4 separate regions of the Homo sapiens genome follow, and regions 1, 3 and 4 are each linked to region 2. Evidence: promoter capture Hi-C in 16 types of primary human blood cells and fetal thymus (Javierre and others, 2016). All regions are on one chromosome and are shown on one strand. The core of a region is centred on a gene start or on the middle of the fragment in contact, and the rest is flanking DNA. Distances in the headings are between cores, read along the strand shown. Region 1 overlaps CMAS (cytidine monophosphate N-acetylneuraminic acid synthetase). Region 2 holds the start of SPX (spexin hormone). Region 3 overlaps C2CD5 (C2 calcium dependent domain containing 5). Region 4 overlaps C2CD5 (C2 calcium dependent domain containing 5).

Region 1 (4,271 bases), core at 38-2,537, 530 kb after region 2:
TCAAATAACAGATTTAATGTCTCTCTCATTTTAGAGCCTGCAACATGGTTGCATCATATATTTCTTAACTTGTTAATTTTAGTTATCATTATTATTTATTATTTACTGTGTACTTCGGAGTAGGTGAAACACTTTGCATATGTTATCTTATGTAATCTGCATAGCGAATGAATGAAGTGGACATTTCTACCCAGTTTTACAGAGGAGGAAAACTGCCTCACTGAAATATGAAGTAATTGACTCAAGGCAAAAACAGCTAATAAATGGTACTGTCAGGATTTGGATTCAGGTTCTTATGTTACTCAAGAAATAGCGGTTTTAAAGAGAGAGAGAGAAACCTCTCCATTGTGTAATAAAAATTCTAATGGGACTATTATTCTGAGCAAAAGAGAGAAAAACATTTTTACAAATCTTCTGGTCAATGTGTAGGCAAACTATAGACTAGCTGTTTAGTTAAATTTAAGTGTTCAGAAAAATTGGATTTGACACACATAGATACTACCATTTTTAAGCTTTTTTCTAAGGAGGACCATGATTAACCCATTCCTAAAGTGTGGAGAAAAATGTTTCTCATTAAAACAAGGTTTATGAAGAGACTGACAATTCTGAAAAAAAAAATGAAATTGAAATTGTCCAGTAATTGATCTTGTCATTCAAATAATTACTATCAGAAGAAAGACCCTTTCTCTTGCTGACCCTTGCCTAGAATCAAGAGACTGCCCTTGCCTTTGCCTGCATGTGACTTGGATGACTATTAGTCATTTTCATCAGTAGCTCAGAGATCTAAGAAAACTCTGTACAACAGATGCTACAGTTATTTTTCCTCCCCTGTGTTGCCTGTTAGTTGCAAATTAGAACAGAAGTTCCAAAAACCTTAATACTGCTTTTGGATGATGACAGGAGAGACTTCTTGAAAAAAAGGAGGATATGATTAAGGGATTTCCACAAAATCCCTTGTGGTCAGAAACCTGGAGGATGTAATATTTCTGCTTTTTTCAATATTAAAATAGAAATTTTCTTAAATAGGGAACTTGAACTGTTTAGATAGAATTTGAAAAATGTTAAGGTTATTTCTTTTGTGTGAGCTTTCTCCTTAAAAAAAAAAAAAAAAAAAAAAAAAAAGCTGGGCGTGGTGGCTGAAGCATGTCATCCCAGCACTTTGAGAGGCCAGCTTGAGGCCTCAAGAGGATAGCTTGAGGCCAGGTTTCCAAGACCAGCCTTGGCAACATAGCAAGATCTTATATCTACAAAAAACTTTTTAAAAATTTAGCCGGACATGGTGCTGTATACCTGTAGTACCAGATCCTTAGGAGGCTGAGGTGGGAGGATTGCTTGAGCCTAAGATTTCAAGGTTATAATGAGCTATGATTGCACCATTGCACTCCAGCCTGGGAGGCAGAGTGAAACCCTGACTCGAAAAAATAAAAAAGTAAAAATAAATTTAAAAATCATTTTTATGTGACTGATTTTTACTGGGTTATTCATTTTTCTCAGTACTGTAGAAATGAATTCATTGTTCTGTATTATAATAAAGTTTTGATATATGTGAATGAATATTAAAAACAGTATTCATGACATTTATACTACCTTTAGGGTGGAAAAATGGCATACTACGAAATGCGAGCTGAACATAGTGTGGATATAGATGTGGATATTGATTGGCCTATTGCAGAGCAAAGAGTATTAAGGTAAAAACAAATAAACCTTTATAACCTTTGTACTAAATCTTAATAATTATATTTCTAGATACTGATTTCTGATACTTCAGACATCTTAGGATCTTTGTAATTACTTTGTTCATGTGAGGAAGACATGTAAAATATGTGTTTACATGGCTTCAATAAAGTGAGAAACATTATCTGGCTAGACCACACTACTTTTACTTACTGTACTATATGTTAAAATATATATGTGAAGTAAATTTGGAGAGTAATGTTTGAATAATTGAATGGAGGGTGACATTTCATGTATTGGTTTAGCCAGATGAGAGGGAGTGATTAGTACTGCACTTGTACTCAAAGGTCTATTTTGGTTTCTTTTAGATATGGCTATTTTGGCAAAGAGAAGCTTAAGGAAATAAAACTTTTGGTTTGCAATATTGATGGATGTCTCACCAATGGCCACATTTATGTATCAGGAGACCAAAAAGAAATAATATCTTATGATGTAAAAGATGCTATTGGGATAAGTTTATTAAAGAAAAGTGGTATTGAGGTATGTGCTCCCTGAATATAGCAGTATTTTATAATATTTTGATTCAGGGTCAAAGAACATGCAAGGAATTAAGAGATTTAAATTTTTAGTATTAACTCTTAAAATATCTGAAATTTGGCCTTCATACGCCTAGAAAATTATTATACTATTTAGTTTTAGATGAGTAGAATTAGGAATTTGTTAATCAGCAAATAATATTTCTTGTTTATTCAGTAAATATAAACATAACTACTTTTAAATGGGAGCTATCTAATGTTTCCCAAAGGATCTTGCAGCAAGAAAGATTCCCTAGATAATAGGTGTACCATTTTAGAAAAGGACGATATCCTGTGGATTTTTAAAATCTAGCTTATTCTTATGAATGACATTTTTGATTCAAAATAACTTAACGTTTAAGTGTATTTTTTTAAATGAAAGCTAGCTAAGATAATTATAATTTACCAGAAATCCTAAATATGTATTGCTAAGCAGCACAAGAGAGAGGTTATAGACTTTCCTCTGGATAAATTGAATTATAGGAGAATCTTAGAGTAGTATCAGACAATATATGTTGTAATTTTTACCTGTAGATAGAATCCTTTCTATTGTAGAAAATAAAATACTGTGTCTCACCTTTATTGGGCTATGAGAAATAAAATGAGCTTTGTTTTAAAGCATCATGATTTTAATTCGACAGTCAGTTTTCTTACTTGGACCTTCAGAAAGTCAAAAGATGACTCGTTTGTGATTTGGACTGTCTACAAGGTCAATTATTATGAAAGATTTCTGTTTTCTTCACTTTTTAATTTTTCCCTTCTTCCTCCAATCCTTTTTTTTTTTTTTTTTAAGGTGAGGCTAATCTCAGAAAGGGCCTGTTCAAAGCAGACGCTGTCTTCTTTAAAACTGGATTGCAAAATGGAAGTCAGTGTATCAGACAAGCTAGCAGTTGTAGATGAATGGAGAAAAGAAATGGGCCTGTGCTGGAAAGAAGTGGCATATCTTGGTTGGTATCTTTTTATTCACCCATAGTAAAATGGACCAGGAATTAATTATTTACTTATTTTTAAAGAAATGACAAAGCACATCCTCCAAATGGGTATGATTGTAGGGAAATAGGAACTCTTTTAACAAACACTGCTGATCAAACTGTTAAACTGGGACAGTCTTTCTGGAGGTTAGTTTGATAATAGGTATCAAATGTAGAATGATTATTAGCACAAGCTGTGAAGTCAGACTGTACCACTGATTAGCCAGTTGTGATAAGATGAATGTTGTTTCCTCATCTGTAAACTGGAGATATCGAGAGTACCTATTACCGTAGGGCTCTGGAAGGGATTAATAAAATAATATGAGTAAAGCACTTAGCAGAATTTCTAGTACATATGAATTACACTCTGAATAGTTTTTGCTGCTAATTGAATGTACATACTTTTTCCTCCAAATTCCAATTCCAGGAAAGAAATGAGACAAATGGGCCAATAGTGAAGTTAAAAGAACCCACTTAAATGTCCTGTGAAAAATAGAATATCCCTAAAAAGGATTACTATGCAACCATTACAAACAGTGCTGTGACCTGTATTTATTTGCATGATCAAATATAACAATGTTTTTCACTTGGATATTAAGCAATACACTTACTTACCAGGTACCTATGATGATACGCAGCATGGAACTGGTTGTGGGAACTGTAGGCTTTCTGCTTGCAGAGCTTACAGTCTGATGATGTCAACATTTTAAAATTGATAAGTTATTAAGATGCATAATAACTATAAATCATGTATGAAAGCAGTATTTACAAGGGTAATATGAGCCTCAAAATAAGAAGCACAGGAAAAACTTTGGGAGCATGTGATCTAGAGACTTCAGGAATAACCCTTAAACCACACATGAAGATTTAATGGACATAAATGCTGCAGAATGTTTGTTAAAGACAGATCCAATTTTTATTAGAAGAAAATTTTAGTGGAATGTATAACAAATTCCAACTATACTTATTATCTTTCTTTGGGATGTTAAGCAAGCTTCTGTATACCTTAGTTTTCTACTTAGAATATAAACACAAACCAAATTTTATAAAG
Region 2 (4,014 bases), core at 883-3,382:
AGAGGTTTGGGAGGCTGACATGGGAGGACCAGTTGAGGACAGGAGTTTCAGCCCAGCCTGAACAACATAGTGAGACCCTGTCTTTAAAATAACAATAACAATAATAATAACAGTAAAAAAAATTCTCATTTTTTCCTTTCCCTTCTTTTGTGACATCTGTAAAAGAGATTGTTTATTCTTGGCTTTAATTTATCATATCATATTCACTATTCAACCAACTCCAATCTTGCTTCTATCCTCAAAACCATCATATTCCAAATCCAGTGGATGTTTCTTGGAGCTAATGTTGCTTGACCTCCCAATACTACTGGATCTTCACTTGGCTTCCATGATATCAGGGTCCCCTGGAATTTCTCCTTTCTTTCTGACTCTACCTCAACCTCCTTTTCTGGCTCTTCCTCTGCTCATTCTCTATGCGTTTGTTTTCATAGCTCTGTCCCTGCCACTCTTCTTTAGCCCTATTCACTCCCTAAGTGTTGTGTTTAATCTCATCCCTTTACTGGTTGTAAAATTCTTAGAATTCTTAAAATTCTTAAAGCTAATCATTTCTGCCCCCCACCAAAAAGAAAATCTGTAGGCTGGTGACCTCTTGGCTGACCTCTATCAAGTTTTGCATTTCTAACCTTCTATTTTGTACTTGTACTTGGATATTTTTAATATACATTTTAATTTTAATATGCCTATATGGCAAGTGTTAATTTCCCTCTCATAACTTGCTTCTTAAGAAGTTTCTCTAATTTCAGTAAATTACTTCATAATTTACCCACAGTTTTATCCATAAACCTAAGAATCATCCTTGATTTATTTTTCTCACACTTTCATATCCCTTTTATATACAAGTTCTATATTTTCTACCTCCACAACATGTATTCCAAATTCATTTACAGCTCTTCTTTCCCTGTGTGTACCATCCCAGTGTAAGCCATCATCATCTATTGCTTATAATCGTATTTCCACATCAACTGGCCCATTTCTTCTTCTCCAATCTCATTTCAAAGCACCTCCCCCGTTCACCCACACAACGCTGCCTCCATTGGCCTCTTTCCTAGTCCCCAAGCAAGTCATGCTCTTTGCTGTCCACAGATTTTGCTTTTCTTTCTTCTATTGAGAATGCCTGGAATACTAATTCCTGCCCAGCTTCTCCCATTACTTCACCTTATCCTTCAAGACTACCCTCTGTTTTTAACCTTCCCTAAAGTAGCCCACCACTTATCCTATCACATCACCTTGCTTACTTTTACTTAACAATTTAAAACATTCTGTAGTTACAGTAGTCCCTGCTTATCCACGGTTTCACTTTCCATGGTTTCAGTTACCCATGGTCAACTACAGTCTGAAAATATTAAATGGGAAATTCCAGAATTAATAAGTTTAAATTGTGAGCTTTAAATCTGAGTAGGGTGTTGAAATCTCTCACTGTCCAGCTCCAGCCCACCCAAGACATGAACCATCTTTTTGTCCAGCATGTCCATATGTAAACACCACTCTCCCATTAATCAGTTAGTAACCATCTTGGTGAACAGATAAAAAAAAATAGTATAATAAGGCATATACGTATCAGTGGTTTCAGGCATCCACTGTGGGTCTTGAAACATGCTCCTCCACCCCACACACACCTACGATTAAGGGGTAACTACTGTGTCTTATTTATCTATTCATCAGTTTACTGTGTACCTTAACTAGTAGGTAACTTAGATCAAAGCAGAGACCATGTCTTTTCAGTGCATGGCTGTGTCCCTTGAAATACAAGGATTGTGTGTCTCATAGGCACTCAATAAATATTTGCTAAACAACAGAATGAATTGATAATTAAGTGAATGACTGATGTCAAATTCCATTGAGATTCCCAAACCTTTTCATACATCTTTAGCCATCAGTGATAGACTGATGGCTAGTTACCCAAGAAAAGTTTTCTGATTTATTCTTTTACTTTTGATTCTGCCTTGGACTATTGATTGTTTTCATTAATAATAATAATAACATGTTACTTTGGGCAGCTAGTAGGAAAAGCAAGGCCAATGATGCTGACACATTCTGAAGGCCTCCTGGGTGATGCAATCAGTATTTAAACAAATAATTTCTGCCCATCAATCATTCCTCTACTTCCTGCAATGAAGCTCCCTGGAGGAGTCATCAGATTCTCAATCTTGCTTGAAGACTGACAAGATGTCCCTGTGGACTCCCAAACTCTACTCCAGATGGGGAGGTGCCCTTAACACCAAGATTTTAAAAGCTCCAATTTCAGAGCAAGAGTCGAAAACTCACAGATAAAGTTATAGTTATTTCAGGGTTCTGAAAAGACGCAGAACATGAAGGTAAGTAAAGGCTTTATTAACTTGAGACTTCTTAGCTATTTTTTAAAACGTTTTATAGCATTTTACCTATTTCATGTTTAATAAGGATTTTAGAGTTTAAAGGATATTTGAACGATACGCCTTTAGAATAACAGAATCATTTGATTTTACTAAGAAAAAAATTCACGTATTTACTTATTCTTCATTTGGGTGAAGTAATACAAATAATATGTTTCTAAATACGTTTTTTCAAGTGGACTCTTTGTGAATTAACTAGAAGGTAGAAGGGAAACACCTCCAGAAAACTGAGTATTAAAACAGAATATTGCGAGAAGTAAGGGGGTTTATAATTGTCCAGGCGTCAAGGAAGGAAGCAGAAGATCCTATTGGCACAGAAATGACCCTTTCTGGTTGATCGCTTCATATAGGGACTCAGAAGTCTGGCAGCAACAACCTTGGCTCTTTTCCTGGTGTTTGTTTTCCTGGGAAACTCCAGCTGCGCTCCGCAGGTAATCAAATGCAAAATAAAAAATTTTAAAACAATGCGCACTGTGTGTCCACTCTGCTCTTTCTTTCTTCCTTCTTGTTTTATTCTCTTCTTTTTCCTTTATTTTGCTGTAATAGAGGACTGAGCTGCAATGTTTTATTAACTGCTCTTCCCTTCCCCCGGGCTATAGAGACTGTTGGAGAGAAGGAACTGGACTCCTCAAGCTATGCTCTACCTGAAAGGGGCACGTAAGTTCCAAATATTTCGCTCTTCCTACAATAATGGAAGACCCCTAGGAGTCAGGAACAGATAGATGGAGAGTTATGGAGAGAGAATAATGTCGAGTTTATTCCCTTAAATCATCGAGGCCATCAAAGAGACCGGTAGGTGAGGGAGGGGTGGGAGAGGGGAAGAGTCCCTGATTATTGGAAATCCTCCATCCTTATTAGAAATTCTCCATCCAAAACTGGAGGGTTGCTTCTCTTGGTCCAAATGGGGACTCGGGTTGCCTGGGAAATATCTCAGTAACCCGACCTCCGCTCCAAAGCGCCCTTGCGGCGTCCGGTCAGGCGCGGGGCTTTCCTCCAGAGCTCCAGGGCCCCTGGCTCAGCCCGGGGTTGCGCTGGGAGCGCTGGAAACTCGGCAGCCCCGCGCGACCCTATCCTGGAGCAACCTGCCCCCTCCCCACGCCCGGGGACTGCGCTGTGCCGGGAGGAGCTGAGGTTTAAGCCCGGGTTGTCCCGGGCCAGGCTGTCGCTGAGCCCCAGGTCTCGTTTTTGCAGAGGGTCGCCGCTTCATCTCCGACCAGAGCCGGAGAAAGGACCTCTCCGACCGGCCACTGCCGGGTGAGTGACCAAGGGTGCAAGGGCGCTAGTCCTGCGCTTTTGGAATAGGATGGGGCGGGCAGGGCTTGCTCCGCGCTGGTGCCGAAAGAAAGCGTCTCCTCACCGGAAAGACGCGGCTCTGAGGCGCCCTCAGATACAGTCCGCCCGAGGGCAGCCCGGGTTGGCAGCAGCAGCAGCTGGATGCCGAGCGCCGGAGCTGGGAGCTCGCGCGTCCAGCCCCGCGCCAATGGTGGCAAGGGCGGCCCAGGCTGGCGCTGCGGCTCCCCAAGCCTTATTGGCTTGCGGCTGTTCAGCCAGCCCTCTGGCTGCCAGGGTGTGCAGAGGTCCCCAGGGAGTTAGGACCTGAGGTGCAGCTCAGAGGGGTAAGGCGAGATAGGAAGAACTATGC
Region 3 (4,431 bases), core at 570-3,069, 950 kb after region 2:
TTAATTTAGCACGTGAAAAAATGTGTATCTTAGCTTCCAAAACCTTTAAGAAATTAGTCCAATGCCACATTACCTCCAAAACAAAAGCATCTTTTTTCCCATGTGAAAGGTCTAATTCTGTAACTTCATCCGAGCTTTCTGATTGAGATCTTAGAAGTCTTGAGCGTTGCCTAGGTTCTGGGATGGGTGATCCTATAATCTCTTCAGATATCTCCTAAAAGAAATATAATTGTTTTATATCATATGAGATTGTCTTTTCCAGTTTAAATTTTACATCTTTATATTAGTAGACACCTACCTGTGGAGAAAAAGCCTGTAAAATATACTCAGTGAAGTCCGTACTTAAGTATAACCTTTAAAACTAAACTTTTATAGCAGATATGGCAGCCTTAATGATACACGAATCAGAAAAATATATATAACTGTCACAGACATAACAAGATAAAACTGACATCTAGTGTACACACAGGACACTACAATGTGTATGGAATTGGCAGTCCTTACAGCTCTGAAATCCAGTACTGCTGTGTGTGCATATTTTCTATTCAGCATTATAAAAGTCCTAATAGGCCTTAAAAATTTAAAGACTTATGTTCCTAGAAAGAATTCTAATCTTTTATATATTTTCTTATCCACTTTCAAAGCTCCATATAGCAAAATGTGAAATATGATCAATGTATGAGTATGAATACATATATACTTATACTATGCACATATTTGCTATTCAATTTATTAAGCTAAATAAACATTGGTACTTACAATAATGATCTTTTTAAGGTCAGTGTATGGTGCAATACTGTATGGCTTAGTGAGCTTTTTGCTGTTACATAGCCAAAGATCACTAGGGGTTCTAAGTGTCTGTCGGCCACAAGGAATGCTGGAAGAATATGAATACGTGAACGCAAAAGCAAAAGCCATAGCCTATTGCTGATGCAACAGAATTGTCTTTTTAATAAACAAGGAAATTGTACATAAAATTTTTCAAAAATATATAGTTTTAAATGTTCATTGGTAGTATGCACCTTAGATAAAAGACTACCACTGCACAATTTCATAATGTAATGATCTATGGAGCACTTTCACATCAATTTATCTTATTTGTACTCCAAATTAATCTGCCCTCTATAAAGTTAACATTATAATAACTACAAAATGGAAAAGAGCTGTAATTCAGAAGTAAATTAGTAGTCTGCCTAAATTTGGAAAACTAGCAAGTGTAGAGCCAGTCTAGGTCAGTCTTTTGACACACAGTGCAACGTTATTCCCACTAGATACCACACTACTTTTTATAATTTTACAATAGTTTTAAATTCTGTTATGCCTTTGTTCACAATGCCACAGACTTAACAAATATAACTGTCTGGTATTTAATATGTTCTAGATTCATACTGAAATTTCATCACTAGTACTGTTATTCTGAGAGATGTGCATCTTATTTTGATACCTTTGATTATCTCCATAAAGCTTAAGTGGTACTACACCTTTGTATTAGAAACATTTTTTAATGTATTGACAAAAAATTTAAACAGCAGCATTTATTTCAGTGAGGGCTATCATCCTAAGAGAAGGAACACTCTGATCTACATATTCAGGGTGGACATAACACAACACTGTAATGTGTATAGTGGCCTGGTAATCAACCTTGTACACTGACTCTGTCAAAAAAAATGCTGAGAGATTATGCTAAAAGACTATAATGTAGTCAGTATCTACAATAAGGAAAGACATATTAGAAGATGCATAAACTGATGAGTACTGTTGTGAAAATACAGTCATCCTCAACACATGAAATTCATATATGTTAAAATTTTTAAAATCATAATAGATTTACTCCCTCCTTCCAAATGTAAACTGTATGACACATAGTAGCAGCTCAATAAGTACTGAATGGATGAAGTAACTTAATTCATAGTCTTATTTAAACACATCCCTGTCTCCAAAGGGCTTACATTATAGTAAAGGAAGACAGATATATAAAAACTAAGTACAATAATATGTAACAGTTTCTATACAAGTACATACAGGTACAACAAGTACACAATGGAGGAAGAGTCCATTCTTCCTGTTAGAGGTCAGGATGGATTTACAGAGGTGAGAAACACTATTAAGTAAGTAAAAAAGTTCAGCTCATATCATTAGAAATAATAAATGAAGAATATATGAAACCCTAACACAAAGCTTTACAAATCATTTTTCCCAAGTGGCATACTATAAACAGATGTTCAAATATCAAAATATAACTACCAAATAAAAATAATGTACTATAAAAATAAGCAGTCAGTAGAGTGGTGCACAGAGAACTTTTACAAAGTCTATTTTTCAAATATGAATATGTTAACACATCAACATTTGCATTCATTTTAAAGAAGCCCTAAGTCAGTATTGTTCAATAGAAATATAAAGCAAGCCACATACATAATAAAGTAAAAAGAAACAGATAAAATCCATTTTAATAAAACATTTTATTTCATTCAGTATATCCAAAATATTAAATTTTTGACACAAAATCAATACAAAAATATTCATATTTTACACTACTTTTTCACAGTAAATCTTTAAAATCCAGTGTATATTTTATACTTACTACACATTTCAATTCAGACTAGTCACAAGTCCTCAAAAGTCACATGTGGCCAGCGGCTACCACAGTGAATAATGAATAGTGCAGCTGTAGGTCATAACCTTAAAATTCCTCCCAAATTAACAACTATGCTAGAATAATATGATGAAAGCTATACATGTGACGCAACAATCCAGACACACTGTTCCAGAAGACCAGCCAAAATTAGATAAGACGTTTAAAATAATAAAAGCAATAATGTTATACTTTCTTTTTTTATTTTTTTAATTATACTTTAAGTTTTAGGGTACATGTGCACAATGTGCAGGTTTGTTACATATGTATACGTGTGAATGTTATACTTTCCTTTTGTGAAAGTCTTTCATTATCAGAGACTCATAAAAACAAATAGTTTCATTCTAATTCCAACCCATTTTTCTTTCAATTCAGACTCTTGCCATCAGTCATCCACAGAGGAGGCAGCATTGTGATACTTATTGCAAAGTTGGTAAAAAGACTGATTAAAGGAAATGACTGGGAGCAAATTTGTAAAAAAAGAAACTGTAACTGAAAAACTATATTCTTTCACATTTTTACCACCAATAAGAATCTCTTTTTACTAACAAAGAACATTTTAAACCATTTATTTCATCATTCAACAAATACTAAGAGACTACCACCAATAGGAACTTTTCTAGGCAATAGAAACAAAGCCCTCATGAAGCTTCATTCTACCAGTACTAACAGGCAAAAGACCAACAAAACACACACACTCACACACACACACACACTCACACACACACACACTCACAAAGATAAGAGCTATAGAAAACAATAAAAGAGGGAAAAGTCATAGGAAGTGGCAAAAATGAAGTCACAATTTTTAAATAGGATCGTTAGAGTAGGCTTACCCGAAAAGGAGACAGTTGAGCAAAGACATAAAGGGAGGTGAAAGAATGAGTAATAAGGAGAGCTAAACAGTGAAAAAAAAATCTTGTGTCCTCAATAAGATAACCTAAAAATATACTAATAAACAATAACTGATACATTCACAATGTAGGTTTGTTTTACTTACTGGAGGATTGATTTCATATAACTCTTTGTTTTTAGCAATTGTGTCATTTATCTTCTTCTGCATATGAGAGATGTGTTGTTCATATGAGCCATCATTAGGAGTCTTCCCAGCAATCTGAATACCACCAGGAGTTGGTAAAGCTGCTAAATACACACCTGTGGCAGACTTGTAAAAAATAATGGGGAAATAATCAGAAAAAATATCTACAGAATAACAGTCCTTAAGTTTTCATATTTAAGAATGTGGTCAACAGCTGGGTGCAGTGGCTCACACCTGTAATCCCAGTACTTTGGGAGGCCAAGGCGGGCAGATCACTTGAGGTCAGGAGTTTGAGACCAGCCTGGCCAACAAGGTGAAACCCCGTCTCTCCTAAAAATACAAAAATTAGCCAGGTGTAGTGGTGTGTGCCCATAATCCCTGCTACTCAGGAGGGTGAGGCAGGACAATCACTTGAACCCGGGAGGCAGAGGTTGCAGTGAGTCAGGATCATGCCTCTGCACTCCAGCCTGGGCAACAGAGCAAGACTCTGTCTCAAAAAAAAGAAAAAAAGGGAAAAAAAAACAAGAATGTGATCTTTGCTCATTAGGAAGAATATAATCAGCATCAGGGTATACATAGGACATCTCTGGAAAGGCACACAAAAACAACTGGTAATAAGCGTTGGTTTCTTTTGGGGAGGACCCTGGGTAGGTGGGAGACAGTTACGAAATGCGGATTTACTTTTCACTGCATACCCAATTATATTTTTTATGTTTCTACCTCACAATTTTTTTTTTTTTGAGACGAAGTCCCACGC
Region 4 (4,122 bases), core at 1,381-3,880, 970 kb after region 2:
TGCAGAATCCAATACTCCTCTGTTACTACGGGTTAGTTAAAAATTAGTGAAGTGCTTGGTCCTGATTTCTACACTGTACCCCTGTAAGCCACCCTACGGAGAAGAATTATCCCAACTCTCAGAAAAAAAGTCGACCTCTCCCTTCTCTGCCCTTATAGAAAATAAGCCAGGCTGCCATGACAACCTCTGTTCCAAACAGCCTTCCACGGTGCCATCCTGCAGAAATCTAGGATTCAGTACAGCCGCTGTGCCAGATGCAGATAAAATGCAGACCTCTTCACTATAAAGGAAAAAACACAAACAAGTTAACATTTTTCAGACCGTATAACTTTGGGAAATGCTAAATATCAAAATAATTATAACAGTGACAATTTAAGTTCAAGTTAGACTCTACTCAATATTAAATAATATTTACGAGGTTTACCTCCTAAACCTAGCCTAGAAAACAGAAGTAACTTTATTTGAATGGAGGGAAAGAATTCTTCATAAATTAAAAACTGAAAAAAGATAAAAGTATTAATATTAAAGACAATAACTTCATTTAAAATATGGCAAGGCTGAAAGAATGAAATGTTTCAAAATATAAGCAGTAATAAATTGTATTGCTGAATCTAGCATTAATCAATGAAACTATATTAAAATACTCTTTAAATGTATATGAAGTTTTATTAAAATTATTCTAAAAGCACAACTATGTAAATATCTCTATATAGGTGATTTATATAGCTTAATCTAAATTTAAATCATTATAAAGGTTTCTGAAACAATATACAAAATATACTAAATGAAGCTTAAACTACATCATCATATAACAGAAAACTGATATTCAAAATAATTTTTAAATTATTATATGTCACCCAATTTGAAAGCTAAAAAATTAAACAATCAACATAATTATTGAATGAGATCACCTAAACAAATGAGAAAAGTAGCAACCTAGGGATGAACTGCTGAAAACCAGGTATAAATAAAACCCAGAAATAAAATAAAACAGAAGCCTAAGAGAACAAGGGAGGAACAGTCACTTGAACTGTAAATAAAATAAAGGAAGACCAGGCTTAAAGTGTAGGTAGGAATTAAGGATGTCAGAAGGAATAACATGAAACCACTGATGTCTTCGAATCAAGAAGTTATAAGAGCAGAAGTGCATTTCAGAGAGTTTAATCCAGTAACAGAAAGTAGCATGGGCTGGAACAGAAAAGATTAGTTAAAATTTAAATACACAGATGTTTTTGAGGTCTAGAAAGGACCTCTGTCAGATGACATCTGTCAGATGAACTCAAACTTCTAGGTAAATTAACTGAACTCATTTGCAGACTCCTCCATCTGTGACCTATCATCAGCCATCCTGAGTCTACATCCTGTGGCCTTCTTTTTTTTGCTACTCTTTTAAGTGTTGAATGCATCTTGTAAGCTTTGAAACCTCTCCTTATGCCTCTTCTTTTTATTTATATAATTCATATTCATCCCCCAAAATCCAACTCAAGCATCAGTTACTTCATTGACATTTTCTTCCAATTCTACTTTGAGCTTTCAGCCCTCTAGGATCCCAAAGCATCCTATATCTCAATCTTAAAATTTATTTTACATCATAATTATCCAGTAGAATGTAAATGTGATACCAAGAACTATGCCTTCTAAAACCATATCTCTGGCCGGGTGTGGTGGCTTACGCCTGTAATCCCAGCACTTTGGGAGGCCGAGGTGGACAGATCACGAGGTCAGGAGTTCGAGATCAGCCTGACCAACATGGCGAAACCCCATCTCTACTAAAAATATGAAAATTAGCCAGACAGGAAGGCAGGCACCTGTAATCCCAGCTACTAAGGAGGCTAAGGTGGGAGAATCACTTGAACCCGGGAGGTGGAGGTTGCAGTGAGCCAAAATCACACCATTGCACTCCAGCCTGAGTGAAAGAGTGAAACTCTATCTCAAAAAACAAAAAAAAAAACGACAACAACAAAAAACATTTTTCTAAGGCCTCAAAGTTTATGACATTAAAACCATCAATGTGGCAAGACAACTAGGGAGTAAGGCAAGATAAGCTTGACAAAGTTAGTAGTTAACAAGAGTAGAACCGCTACTATGGGAATAAACAGTCTAGGAGTATAACACATGATCTGCAAAGGAAAAGAAAAGCCCACAGAAGATTAAATAATATGGCTCTGTAATGACCACATTTACTACAGTTTAATTCTTTTTCCCTAACAATAAGGATCACCACAAGAGCAGAGGATCTAACAGTAAGAATTACCTAAGAATAGATGGTAGAAAAATAAGATAACAGAAGGTTAAACAGTTTCTAGATGATATCAACTGTAAACTTCTGAAGGGCTGAAAGTAGGGTTCAAGGATGGCAAAAGAACAAAAAAAGCCAGAAACTAAGTAAGGAGCTGAGAAAACAACTGGTTAAGGTAAGGGTCAAAACAAACTAGATATAAAAGAGCAAATGATATTGGTAGAAAAACGTTAAGTTGTGATCTGAGAGTAAAATTTTATAGTTTCAAAATTTTAAGGCGGAACAGTTTCAAGTGATACTGAGGTCCAAAATATGGTTGAAAGTTAAGTGGGGTCAGACGACTTGAGAATAAGAAACTATAATGCCAGCTGCTAGGATGAACATAATCATATGTAACTGGAGGAGAGAGCAGCGAAGTAACTAAGAAAGGCAGACGAATGCTTTGGAAGTAGATAATGGAACAGTAGCGTGGCATGTACTTTAAAGGAGGAGATTGTTCAAATGAAGGGAAGGAGAAAAAGGAATTGAGAACCAAGTGTATGAAAGCCCCTTCCTAATTTGTCAGTATTAGGAAGAATGATTTGTTAGCAAGAAACGTTACATTACAGTAGGTAAAAGGAGGCAGAATGAGTTTATGGACAAACTTTAAAGACACATTGCAATTCGTTTACAGTAGATCAAGGGTTCCAAAGGTTCCAGTGGAAGAAGTTGATACAGTTACATACTAAAGGAAGCCTAGAGTTAATATTTGCTGTGTGCCAGTATTATATTCTCATTTAATCACTGATGTAAATGATTAATTGATCTGTGGTATTATCTCCATTTTAATGTACAAATTGAGGCTCAGAAGAGTTAAATAACTTTCTCAAAGTTACACAGTCACTAACTGGCAAAGACGGCATATAAACCTTAATCTAATGTACTCCAAGGCCCATGCTCCTGAACACTTCGCTATTCTCTTTTCTTTTATTTGCATGAAGCTTTTCCCCTTTCAGATGGCAGTCTAAATTAGTGTCTGGAAAATCAAGTTGTTATTATCATTTACCAGATGCTAGTTGATTCACTGTAGCCCACTACAGCATGACAGCCTAATGCTTTAGCATGTGATTTTATTTCTTGTCTGATTTCTGCCCACCATGCATCTCGAGTTTCTGGTTCATCTGAAAAATAAATTTTAAATCAGTTTATTACTCAATAGCACATTATATATATGAACATGAAATGTTTAAAATAAACATACTATGGGAAGTAAAGAAGTTTTATTCTATAATGGATTTTTAAACTTCCCATCTTTAAAATGCTACTTCTCAAAAGGCATAAGATTTAACCTTTTAAACTCAATTGCTGGAAAACAAACCACCTATCTGTATTTGCTTTATTACTTTAACAGATATCTATAGGAATATATGATTAGATATAATTTTAAATGTAGACCCAGAGTTTCCAAATTCTAATCTTAGCTATGATTAGAATTTTAGAATTAGACTAAGAGGATATTCTACATCTCACCTCACTGAGTGAACACCTTATGTGTTATATCCATAAATTTAACTTTAATTCTGATTTCATTTCTTGGTACCTATTTTTATAACTCACTATATTGTGGGTTCTTTCCAAGGCAAAGATTTGTCAATGTTAAAAGAGAGAAAGCCATCTGTAAGCCATCCTTCTACAGAGATGTGGGTCTTTAGGCAAAATACAAGAAATTAGAGACTAATTTAAAAAAAAAAAGAAAGAAAGCAAGCACACTTAAAATATTAACACAAATAATTTGGTAATGTATATAAGGAAAAATTTCAGATATAACACTCCATGTATTGGTCTGTAATTTTAAAAAATGATTTAGAGTCACAGAATTCTATTTTATTACCAGAGAAGTCCAA

The links. Contacts are between HindIII fragments. The CHiCAGO score rates a contact against its expected background, and 5 or more counts as called.
Region 1: a contact is called between a fragment that was not itself captured here and the fragment with the promoter of SPX in region 2, in 1 of 17 cell types (naive CD4 T cells). The highest score is 5.0, in naive CD4 T cells.
Region 3: a fragment that was not itself captured here is called in contact with the fragment with the promoter of SPX in region 2 in 1 of 17 cell types (naive B cells); the score reaches 5.0 in naive B cells.
Region 4: a contact is called between a fragment that was not itself captured here and the fragment with the promoter of SPX in region 2, in 1 of 17 cell types (total B cells). The highest score is 6.1, in total B cells.

Annotation. Positions count from the first base shown.
Region 1 is chr12:22,059,239-22,063,509 of GRCh38, forward strand. CMAS (cytidine monophosphate N-acetylneuraminic acid synthetase) reads left to right here. Exons shown (of 8, transcript NM_018686.6): 5 at 1,594-1,688; 6 at 2,043-2,214; 7 at 3,043-3,196. Among named protein-coding and RNA genes, the nearest start is that of CMAS, 15 kb to the left of the region's middle. The HindIII fragment of the contact is 1,555 bases long and covers 511-2,065 here.
Region 2 is chr12:21,524,164-21,528,177 of GRCh38, forward strand. SPX (spexin hormone) reads left to right here and starts at 2,133. Exons shown (of 6, transcript NM_030572.4): 1 at 2,133-2,315; 2 at 2,723-2,803; 3 at 2,972-3,029; 4 at 3,564-3,626. The coding sequence starts at 2,310. The HindIII fragment of the contact is 15,623 bases long and covers 1-4,014 here.
Region 3 is chr12:22,474,678-22,479,108 of GRCh38, forward strand. C2CD5 (C2 calcium dependent domain containing 5) reads right to left here. Exons shown (of 27, transcript NM_001286176.2): 15 at 3,636-3,800; 16 at 74-214. Among named protein-coding and RNA genes, the nearest start is that of C2CD5, 68 kb to the right of the region's middle. The HindIII fragment of the contact is 714 bases long and covers 1,463-2,176 here.
Region 4 is chr12:22,489,939-22,494,060 of GRCh38, forward strand. It overlaps C2CD5 (C2 calcium dependent domain containing 5), which reads right to left. Exons shown (of 27, transcript NM_001286176.2): 11 at 3,285-3,399; 12 at 185-280. Among named protein-coding and RNA genes, the nearest start is that of C2CD5, 53 kb to the right of the region's middle. The HindIII fragment of the contact is 1,174 bases long and covers 2,044-3,217 here.